3 separate regions of the Homo sapiens genome follow, and all the other regions are linked to region 2. Evidence: promoter capture Hi-C in human tissues and cell types (Jung and others, 2019). All regions are on one chromosome and are shown on one strand. Each heading gives the region's core, a stretch centred on a gene start or on the middle of the fragment in contact. The rest is flanking DNA. Distances are from core to core; before and after follow the strand shown. Region 1 overlaps AFF3 (ALF transcription elongation factor 3). Region 2 holds the start of AFF3 (ALF transcription elongation factor 3). Region 3 overlaps AFF3 (ALF transcription elongation factor 3).

Region 1 (3,701 bases), core at 45-2,544, 400 kb after region 2:
TGGAGAAATACTCTGTTTTGGTACCAGTACCATGCTGTTTTGGTTACTGTAGCCTTGTAGTATAGTTTGAAGTCAGGTAGTGTGATGCCTACAGCTTTGTTCTTTTGGCTTAGGATTGACTTGGCGATGCGGGCTCTTTTTTGGTTCCATATGAACTTTAAAGTAGTTTTTTCCAATTCTGTGAAGAAAGTCATTGGTAGCTTGATGGGGATGGCATTGAATCTGTAAATTACCTTGGGCAGTATGGCCATTTTCATGATATTGATTCTTCCTACCCATGAGCATGGAATGTTCTTCCGTTTGTTTGTATCTTCTTTTATTTCATTGAGCAGTGGCTTGTAGTTCTCCTTGAAGAGGTCCTTCACGTCCCTTGTAAGTTGGATTCCTAGGTATTTTATTCTCTTTCAAGCAATTGTGAATGGGAGTTCACTCATGATTTGGCTCTCTGTTTGTCTGTTGTTGGTGTATAAGAATGCTTGTGATTTTTGTACGTTGATTTTGTATCCTGAGACTTTGCTGAAGTTGCCTCTCAGCTTAAGGAGATTTTGGGCTGAGACAATGGGGTTTTCTAGATATACAATCATGTCATCTGCAAACAGAGACAATTTGACTTCCTCTTTTCCTAATTGAATACCCTTTGTTTCCTTCTCCTGCCTAATTGCCCTGGCCAGAACTTCCAACACTATGTTGAATAGGAGTGATGAGAGAGGGCATCCCTGTCTTGTGCCAGTTTTCAAAGGGAATGCTTCCAGAAATAACGCCGCATGTCTACAACTATCTGATCTTTGACAAACCTGAGAAAAACAAGCAATGGGGAAAGGATTCCCTATTTAATAAATGGTGCTGGGAAAACTGGCTAACCATATGTAGAAAGCTGAAACTGGATGCCTTCCTTACACCTTATACAAAAATTAATTCAAGATGGATTAAAGACTTAAACGTTAGACCTAAAACCATAAAAACCCTAGAAGAAAACCTAGGCATTACTATTCAGGACATAGGCATTGGCAAGGACTTCATGTCAAAATGGCAACAAAAGCCAAAATTGACAAATGGCATCTAATTAAACTAAAGAGCTTCTGCACAGCAAAAGAAACTACCATCAGAGTGAACAGGCAACCTACAAAATGGGAGAAAATTTTCACAACCTACTCATCTGACAAAGGGCTAATATCCAGAACCTACAATGAACTCAAACAAATTTACAAGAAAAAAAACAAACAACCCCATCAAAAAGTGAGCAAAGGACATGAACAGACACTTCTCAAAAGAAGACATTTATGCAGCCAAAAAACACATGAAAAAATGCTCACCATCACTGGCCATCAGAGAAATGCAAATCAAAACCACAATGAGATACCATCTCACACCAGTTAGAATGGCAATCATTAAAAAGTCAGGAAACAACAGGTGCTGGAGAGGATGTGGAGAAATAGGAACACTTTTACACTGTTGGTGGGACTGTAAACTAGTTCAACCATTGTGGAAGTCGGTGTGGCGATTCCTCAGGGATCTAGAACTAGAAATACCATTTGACGCAGCCATCCCATTACTGGGTATATACCCAAAGGACTATAAATCATGCTGCTATAAAGACACATGCACACGTATGTTTATTGCGGCACTATTCACAATAGCAAAGACTTGGAACCAACCCAAATGTCCAACAATGACAGACTGGATTAAGAAAATGTGGCACATATACACCATGGAATACTATGCAGCCATAAAAAATGATGAGTTCACGTCCTTTGTAGGGACATAGATGAAATTGGAACTCATCATTCTCAGTAAACTATCGCAAGAACAAAAAACCAAACACCGCATATTCTCACTCATAGATGGGAATTGAACAATGAGAACACATGGACACAGGAAGGGGAACATTACACTCTGGGGACTGTTGTGGGGTGGGGGGAGGGGGGAGGGATAGCTTTAGGAGATATACCTAATGTTAAATGATGAGTTAATGGGTGCAGCACACCAGCATGGCACATGTATACATATGTAACTAACCTGCACATTGTGCACATGTACCCTAAAACTTAAAGTATAATAATAATAAAATAAAAATTAAAAAAAAGAAATAGAGAAATACTGAGCTTCAGAGAAACCAAAAACAAAATATCTGTGTGGATTGATTACTAACTCATTATTTTAGGCCAGTGCTTCTATTCTCTTTGAAGTGAGAAAGACTGTATTATAGATACTAAAGGAAAGATTGTATAAACAGAAAATGACTTTCAATACAAATCTTTTAAAAGGTAGATCGTTTGCTGAATTACTGATCAATTGAACTTGATATTATAAAATGGAAGCTTATTAAGCATTGAGATACTTGAATATTAACATGGATGATTTATGTCTACATTTTTAAAAATTATGAGAACGTCCTGTTCAGTTGAGTGACTGCATTTAAGCAATCCTTCCCCTTCCTTCAGAATCCCCACCTAATAGCCATGAAGCTGTAGAAATGGAAATAAATCCAAAATAGCACCATCAGAATAAGTGCCATCAGCAAACCAGAAATTTAGTTGTGTTCTGGAAAGCCGAAAGTAATAAAACCCTACTGAAAAATACCCCTGAACAGGGAAGGTCGTGACACAGCAAAGGAAGAATCAGACAGGAACAAGTTTTAGTGGTGGTGGGAACAGCCCCCAGGAGCCCCAGGAAAGACCACATTTCCACTGGACCCCAAGAGAGAACAAGTGCGAATTGCTTGCAGTGATGGGAACACCTGGCCATCCTTCAACCATTACCCCTCCACCCCCATCCTCACGGATTCCCACACAGAGCTTTCAGGATGATTTTTTCTCAAAAACCCCCAAAAACAAAAAGTACCATAATATTTGCTAAAAAAAAAAAAAATTGAACAGTTCACTCCTCACTGAGAACTAATACCAAAGAGAGAAACAGAATACATTCTAAGATAGTACCAGACCTTAAAAATAGATGACATGGAGTAATGGCAGAAGAGTCAACTATTTCTCAAGGGAAATAAACAAAAATTCTATACACCTAAAGTACAGTGCTTTATATTTTTCTTAGAGGAGTGGGTGGAGGAAGGGCTTGGGCTTACAGCTTGCCTGGAGGCTTCTCTTCTCTTGAGCCCTAAATGAATCCTTCACATCAGCATACCCTGCCCACTTACAAAGAGCCATAAATCAGCTCTTCCCTACAAAGGATAGGTGTGTTAGAAAAATTGATCGGAATACTGATACAGGAAAGCCACGCCAACTACCTTTGTTAACCAATTTTTTATTTAAAAATATGAATATATAACCAGTGACGCCAAAAAGAAAGACTAGTCCCAAAGGAAATCTAGGAAATCTAATTCAAGGTAAAGAAGAAAAAAGTTTCAAGTATAATTGCAGTCCTTAGAAAGATTTGAAATTATTTGTGTTAAATAAAAAGAGAACAGATTGGTATGAAAAAGAGGTAATTACAGAACAAATGAACACTTGAGAATTAAAAATATGATTGACAAACAATAGAAGGGATGATAATAGCTGAAGTCTGAAACGTTGAATATAAAGTTGAAAACTTTTTTTTTCTGAGTATAAAGCAAAACACAGATGGAAAATATGAAAGGGATTGAAGATACACAGCCAGTCAAGGTGGCAGAAAAAGAAAATGGAGAGGAATGAATAATAACAGAAATAGAGCACTAAGGGAAATGAGCAACTTACAATCAGAAAAGA
Region 2 (3,448 bases), core at 49-2,548:
TTTCTCCTTGCCAGGGACATGAGGCAGACAATACTGGGATAATTTCCCAGGGCTTGGGATAGGACTGGGTGGGGAAGTTTCTAGGTATCCATTCTCAGGATAAGGACGGGCCTGTTTGGATGAGGATAATGGAGGGTCAAACCTGAAGAAGCCAGATTAGCAGAGGCAAAGTGAGAGATCAGAAGGTGGTAAACTCAGAAGGGGGTAGAGACCTGAGGAGCAAGCTGGGACAAGGCAGGAGGGAATTCACAGGCCACATGGTAAGTAATGAGTGGGGTAGAGGACAGAGCAGGGTTTCATTGTGGCGAGTCTGACGGGAGGTGCTGGGGGATGTTCCAGGAGAACAGCAGAAATGTGTGATGCTATGGATGTGGGCTTGGCAAGTTCCATCTGGAGCTGGGAAGAGGCCACCCATGGAGAACAGGAACCATGAGGCGGAGAGTGGAGCTTGCAGGAGGGCGAAAATTAAGACCAAAGAATGGAAGCCTGCCAGTGTGAGAGACCGCCTGACAAAAACCAGGAGAGTATGGAGTCATGGCGGCCCAGGCAGAAGTTCTGGGAGGAAAGAAATGGTCAACACTACAGGGAAGTCAAACACTGCCAGTGGAGACAAATAGGACAGGAACTGAAAAAGCATCCATTAGTGAATCCCTGGTGTCATTAGTGAAAATAATTCCAGGCATGAATGGGGAGAGGGAAGGGTGTCGGGCAGGAAGTCCAGTGCCCGTGGGTTGACTGAATGGGAGATGAGGAGGTAACACCCATCATGTAGGTCATGTAGAGCAGCCTTAGGACATCTGATTCCTTGCCTAAGACTCTTCTTTCCTGGTGTAGCTTTGTTCTAGAAAGGTCTGGAAGACTTGTCACAGTTCCAATGCAGGATGAGCCTTTGGTCCTGATCTCTTGGAGGCCCAGACAGCCTGGGAAACCAGCAGAGCTTTGGACAAGTTAAGCAGCCCATTGAAATCAACATTCTTGATAATCATATATCTAAGAGATTCCAAAATGTTCCTGGGATTCTTTTATGGGTCTGCATAGGGTTAGAAAGCACAGGAGTCAAAGAGACCTTCTCCCTTGGCCTCCAGGGCCACCATCCTCTGCTTTTGTCAGTTGGTCTCCCCAGAGTAGAGTCCAGGTTCCTGCTTCCAGCCTTCTGGTAGACCAGGCCCTGCCACAAGTGAGAGTTGGCCGGTTGGGTATCTGGTTTAGTCACTCGCCTCCACACTTTCACATCCTCTATCAACACCTGCACACTTGGGTTGTGACCACACATGCTCTTCCTGTTTGTACAGAAAGTGCCATTCAGAAAGCTCGCCAGCGAGAAGAGAGCTCCACGCTCAGCCTCAGAAGAAAGACGTTCAACGACTTACTGGGGAGAGAAAGAAAAGGAACGGGAGCTGAGAGGTAAGATCAAACTGGAGGGTGTGCGGGCCCTCTAGGATGCCTTGCCTGGAAGAGAGGTAGCCCCGACTTTGTGTCCTGAAGGGTGGCGCTCTAAGTAGCTGTGCCCATGCTCCGCTGGTCAGGGCAGGGGGAGCATTCTTGGTCAGCCTCACCGAGATGGTCCAGGCCCTGGTGAACAGCCAGAGGGATTGAGAAGGAAGAGATGGGATGTGACCAAAGTTGGTCACTGAAGCCGTCAGTGTGTGTGCGTGTGCATGTGTGTGTGTGTGTGTGGTAGAGGGTGCACATAAAGAAGACATAACCTGAGTGTGAACATGCTCACACACATATTTATGATGCTGGCTGGGGCCTTATGAAAAGTGTGTCTTAACCTCATGTTGCTCATTAGCTATAACCTCAAAAATAGAAACCATGACATGGCCACAGACTGGATCCCAGTCAATGGCCCCAGTGAGTGAGCTTGCAAGGAGAGATCATGGGCAGTTCCACCTAAGGCCACCGTCACTTCTGCAGAAATGACTTGGAATAATGACCTCCTCACTGTTAGGGGCTAACAGCACTATATTTGTATTTCTTGGATGGAACATTGTATATGTGTGTATTTGTGTGTGTGTGTCTGTGTATGTGCATAAACACATCATGTATTTATACACATGACATTGTGTGTATGTGTGTTTATGTGTGTATATATATGTACACACACATATGATATAATGCAATATACACAGTGACCAGATTTTTGAAACCAAAGAGAACTAATAGCAAGACAAAGGGGTTTTTTTCCTAATATGTGATTTCCTTGCTATTCGAGTCTCACATATATAAAAATGAAATATGTCTACACATGTGTTTCATAATTCCTTTTATTCAAAGAGGGGATCATTCAGGTAGCTAAAGGTCAAGTGTTTACAATAACAAAGTGGTGGTAAACTCATTCTTTGAATGTTGATCGTACAAACTAAATAATCCATCAAAAAATGTTGTCTCTGCCATTATTAAAAGCATGTGTTCCTTGGTGCAAAATTTAAGAATGTTCTAACTACAAGAGCACCTTCCTTTACCTAGGGCTATCCCATCTCACTGTTGAAGTGAAGTGATTACAGTGAAAGTAATACAGACATTTAATATTCTTAGTTTTGGTTGTGTTTCTGTCAACTGCTATTCCCTTGTTCTAGGCGTAACTGCACTTAGTGTTTAGTGGTGTTATGCATATGTATATTTGATTTGCATTTAGAAAATAGAAAAATATATACATTGCTTATTTTCCAGATTTCAAGGTTTAAATTCCCACTCTAACATGATGGTTTTAGGCAAGTCACTATACATCTCTGCATCGGAGTTCCCACATCTGTAACACAAGTACAATAGTAGATAGTAATCCCTTCCTCTTAAGAATTAAATAAGCTAATACATGTAAAGTGCTTAGACAAGTGCCTGGAACATTGAAAGGGCTCAGTAAGTATTAGCAGCTGTTATCATTGTCATCATCATCATCATCATCATCACTACCTTTTGTACAATTAAGCCATCAAACTTGAAGGGACATGGTAAGAGTTTGGGAAAGGTGAAAGGTGGGAGGTGGTGTGTGTAAAATGGGTTTGGGGGGTGACACTTAAGGCCAGAGCAGTGACATTACAGTCCTTACACTGTAGCTACAGACAAGTAGTGAGCAGGAAAGAGGAACAGCACAGAACACCCCTCCCTATGAGGCCTGCTTGTGAGAGGAACATGTTCTGGAGCTCTGTGGGCTTGATGACATGTACTCATACACATCTTGTACAGCAAACCAGGAAATAGGCACATGGAACGGTGACATCCAAATGATAGTATATAACATGCATTCAGTGCCTCTCAGGTGTGAGACGTGGTGCTCGGCATTTTACACACATTTTGTTATTGTATCTGAGCCATTGCAATTATGCTTATTTTAGAGGAGAGATTGGTAGGTAGCCTAAGAGTGCAGAGCAGGGAAATAGCAGCGTTGGGATCTGACCATCTCCAGATTCTGTGTCCCAATCCCCCACCCATCACACCCAGAATACAA
Region 3 (3,598 bases), core at 411-2,910, 430 kb after region 2:
AGCCCTGGCCTAGTCACTTTGTGTAAATGATCTCTTCAGTCTTCCCAGTAGCTCTGAAAGCTGGGCTCGTCTTTCCTCAATTTACAGATGAGGAAACTGAGGCTGAAAGAGCTCAGCCAGTGAGTGTCTTCCTACACAGGCCTTTCCTCTGGTGCACGCTGCCAAGAGGCGACTAGAATATATGGCTCCCTGAAGTATTCCCCTTGGAGAACCCAAGAGCATTCCAGTAGGACCTAGGAAAGTTTTAACCCAAAGAACTGACAACCCAGAATATTTTAGGACCCATTCATAGGTTCAACAAGTAGGCATTTGGAATATATGTCATGGGAGAAGGGAAGTTTTCAGTGACTCCAGTTAGACCACATAAGCAATGGTTTACTTCAGTTATGATTAAGGTGGGGAACAGTCTCTGGAAGCGAGTTTGGCCCTTTTGCAATGAGCTCTTCAGTCCACAGAGACATGAGTTAAGAAACTTCAGCTACTCCATACTCACTGTGGCTTTAACAGGTGCCAACGTTTTTCTGAGGAGTCGCCCGGGCTGTGGGAGATTGTGGCTGGTATTACCATATTTATTGACTGCAGCAAGCAATCAATAAATATTGCCTGACATTAACAGACTGCCTGTGCTTCCTCCCAATGTTATCTTTAATGAATCTTCATGCTCTTGTGTTGAAGTGTTTCTAGCATTGAGAACATAGTACTTATTCAATAAGCAAGTACAGTATGAATAAATGAAGGAATGCAGGATACTACAAAGGATGGCTGGAACACATACATTCGCTGTGCGTCTTCTTTCAGAAATACCATCAGCTGGATTTGTTCTCCCTCTTCCTTGGATTCTAGTTGAGATGTAAAACCTCCTAAATGCCAAGCTTGCATATTTGCACACTGAAGCCCGCCCACCTTCCACCCCTAGATCGCAGGTTCTCTTTGCACCCGCATGCCTCTAATGCTGACCCCTTCTCAGGCAGCCTGGGACCATAAAGATACTTGGCATGCCTTAGATGCCTATTTTGTACCAGGCAGTCTACTGGACATGTTGTCTCATTTAATCCTCATAACAATCCAATGAGATGTATTATTACATTATTACATCTCATATTACAGAAGAGAAAAACGAGGTCTCAGAGAAGTGAGTTGGCTCCTGGAGGGGTTTGCAGTCATGAGCCGCAGAGCCAAGATTCCGACTGGGTCCGCCTGCTCCAGATCCTCTTGGAGACACCACACGCGGCCTGGCACAGAGGGCACATGAAACGGGAGAGATGTTAAGGAAGAAACCCCATTTCTGAAGAAAGGGCTGGTATTTCCCTAAAAGCCCTTAATATCTGCCCTCCCTCCCTACTGTCAAGAGAATTGCATCTTGAGGCTGTGAGGAGGCTGGGGAGGAGCGACAGGAGGAAGCCTGGCTCCTGTCGCTGAGTGAGCCTGGTATTTCTGTGCAGTGATGGGGGCCTTGGAAACCGCAGGGGCTGCAGTCTGGGATTCATCTGACATTCCGAGTAGCTGGCAGAAGTCAAGTGACAGCTTCCCAGCCTCGTCCCACCTGCTCACCTCAGAGGGCCTTCTGCTGTTGGCAGAGTGTATTTTAGTAAAGCTGTGCTCACATGATCCTGCCAAAGCATGTAAAATATGTTAGCCTCTGCCTCCAAGGTTCTACCGCAGAGAATTCCACCCCCACTTTTAACTTCTTAAATGACTGAAATATCCAAAGGGACAGGGAATGTGGAGATAATGGGCAGGTGACCAAACTTTCACATTCAGGCAGGCACTCACCTTTTTGTGTCAAAAAAGGCTATTCTTGCTTTAAAAATAAGGATTCCATGGGATTTCAAGGATTTAGTTAGAATACTGCAGGTGTTGGTATATCATGATTAAGAGGTAACAAATACTGAATACTGGCCAGGCACAGTGCCTCACACCTGTAATACCAACACTTTGGAAGGCTGATCACTTGAGGTCAGGAGTTCGAGACCAACTTTACCAACATGGTGAAACCCCATCTCTACTAAAAATACAAAAATTAGTCGGGCATGGTAGCGCACGCCTGTAATCCCAGCTACTTGGGAAGAAGCTGAGGCATGATAATCCCTTGAACTGGGGAAGCAGAGGTTGCAATGACCCAAGATCGCAACACTGCACTCCAGCCTGGACAATAGAGACTCTGTCTCAAAAAAAGAAACAAAAAACAAATACTGAATACTGTGTGCCAGGCTCTGTATTAAATACTTTATAAAAATAAGGGTAATAGTGTAACAATTCTGCAGGGACAATAAGTGTAAGCTGAAACATAGGATCACCCTATACATGAATCAGCTCTTCGAATCTTTATAGCAACTCAGAAAGGAGACAACATTAGAATATCCCATTGTATAGATAAGAAACCAAGGCAGAGAGAGCTCACCCAGGTAGGCAGCATGGCCAAGCCAGGATTTTACCCCAGAGGTGTTTGACTCAGAAGCACTTGTTTTCCTCACTGCCTCAGACTACAGACACCTGAGCTGCATTAAAAACATGGATAAACAAATGAAGTTCAAAGTGGTTTCCAGATGGCTGGAAACCCAGTGATTTGGGACTATTTCATTTGAAAATCTGCTTAACAGTAAAGCTAGACGATCAAGTTCGATTAATTGGCTTTGGGGGTAGGGATGAGAAAGAGTGTCATTTATTTGCTTGTGGAGTTTCTGGGAGTAAATAGAATAATAAGTAGGGTGAAACAAGAATAACCAGTAGTTGGATAGAACTGATAACCATATAGCTTCACTTCTTGGAACAGTAGTATCATGCTAATTTCACACAACCTTGGAAGTTGTATCCTCTGAAAATAAAGAGAAGTTTCTTTTTAATGAGTAAATACATAAAATATTGCTATTTATAATTTTTTTAAAATACCCATTTGACTGCAAGAGAAAAATCTTTTCTCTCATGACCCAGTTATCAAAGTGGAGACATTCTCTGACTTGGTGAGTTTTATCTTTCTATTGATAGTTTGGGCTAGATCACGTGATCTTCACCCCTAAAACTTACTGAGCATTTACTGTGTTCTTGGCACTGTTCTGAGTGCTTGTCTCATACTCTTACGGCTCTCTGGGGTGGTTATCCCCATTTTCAGATAAGGAATATGTGCACAGAAAGGTTAGGAAACTGGACCAGCCTCACACAGCTAGTTTGTGACAGAGCTAGGGTTTGAACCCAGTTTGACTCCTGAACTCATACTTTTTTCAAAAAAGAGATCTCCCTATTTGCCTGGGCTGGCCTTGAACTCCTGGGCTTAAGTGATCCTCCCTGCTCAGCCTCCTGAGTAGCTGGGTTCACAAACAGGTGCTAGAGCACCTGACTCTGCACCCGCCTAGAGCCCATACTTTTTCTCACACCTCTGTGTGATTATTTTGTTTCTCCTTCTGGTACTTTCTCCCTTTACCCCCTTCTGTTTCTCTTCCTTCTTCACCTATCTTGTATTATTCTTTGAATTGAATTAAGAATTTAAAGTCCAGTTTAAGAATTTAAAGTACAGCCTCCATTTCAGCTATTAAACTTCAAAATAGTTCCAAAATACTGAATATCAATGTGTCTCTAAATAAGAGAACGGCATTTTGGAATT

Evidence for each region. Contacts are between HindIII fragments. The study calls those that stand out against the background at their distance.
Region 1: a contact is called between a fragment that was not itself captured here and the fragment with the promoter of AFF3 in region 2, in 1 of the 25 tissues and cell types used here (mesenchymal stem cells).
Region 3: a contact is called between a fragment that was not itself captured here and the fragment with the promoter of AFF3 in region 2, in 1 of the 25 tissues and cell types used here (IMR-90 fibroblasts).

The regions. Positions count from the first base shown.
Region 1 is chr2:99,738,181-99,741,881 of GRCh38, reverse strand. All of the region lies in intron 10 of AFF3 (ALF transcription elongation factor 3), which reads left to right. Among named protein-coding and RNA genes, the nearest start is that of REV1, 250 kb to the right of the region's middle. The HindIII fragment of the contact is 5,333 bases long and covers 1-3,701 here.
Region 2 is chr2:100,140,440-100,143,887 of GRCh38, reverse strand. It overlaps AFF3 (ALF transcription elongation factor 3), which reads left to right and starts at 1,298. Exons shown (of 25, transcript NM_001386135.1): 1 at 1,298-1,404. The HindIII fragment of the contact is 13,656 bases long and covers 1-3,448 here.
Region 3 is chr2:99,708,846-99,712,443 of GRCh38, reverse strand. All of the region lies in intron 11 of AFF3 (ALF transcription elongation factor 3), which reads left to right. Among named protein-coding and RNA genes, the nearest start is that of REV1, 220 kb to the right of the region's middle. The HindIII fragment of the contact is 7,042 bases long and covers 1-3,598 here.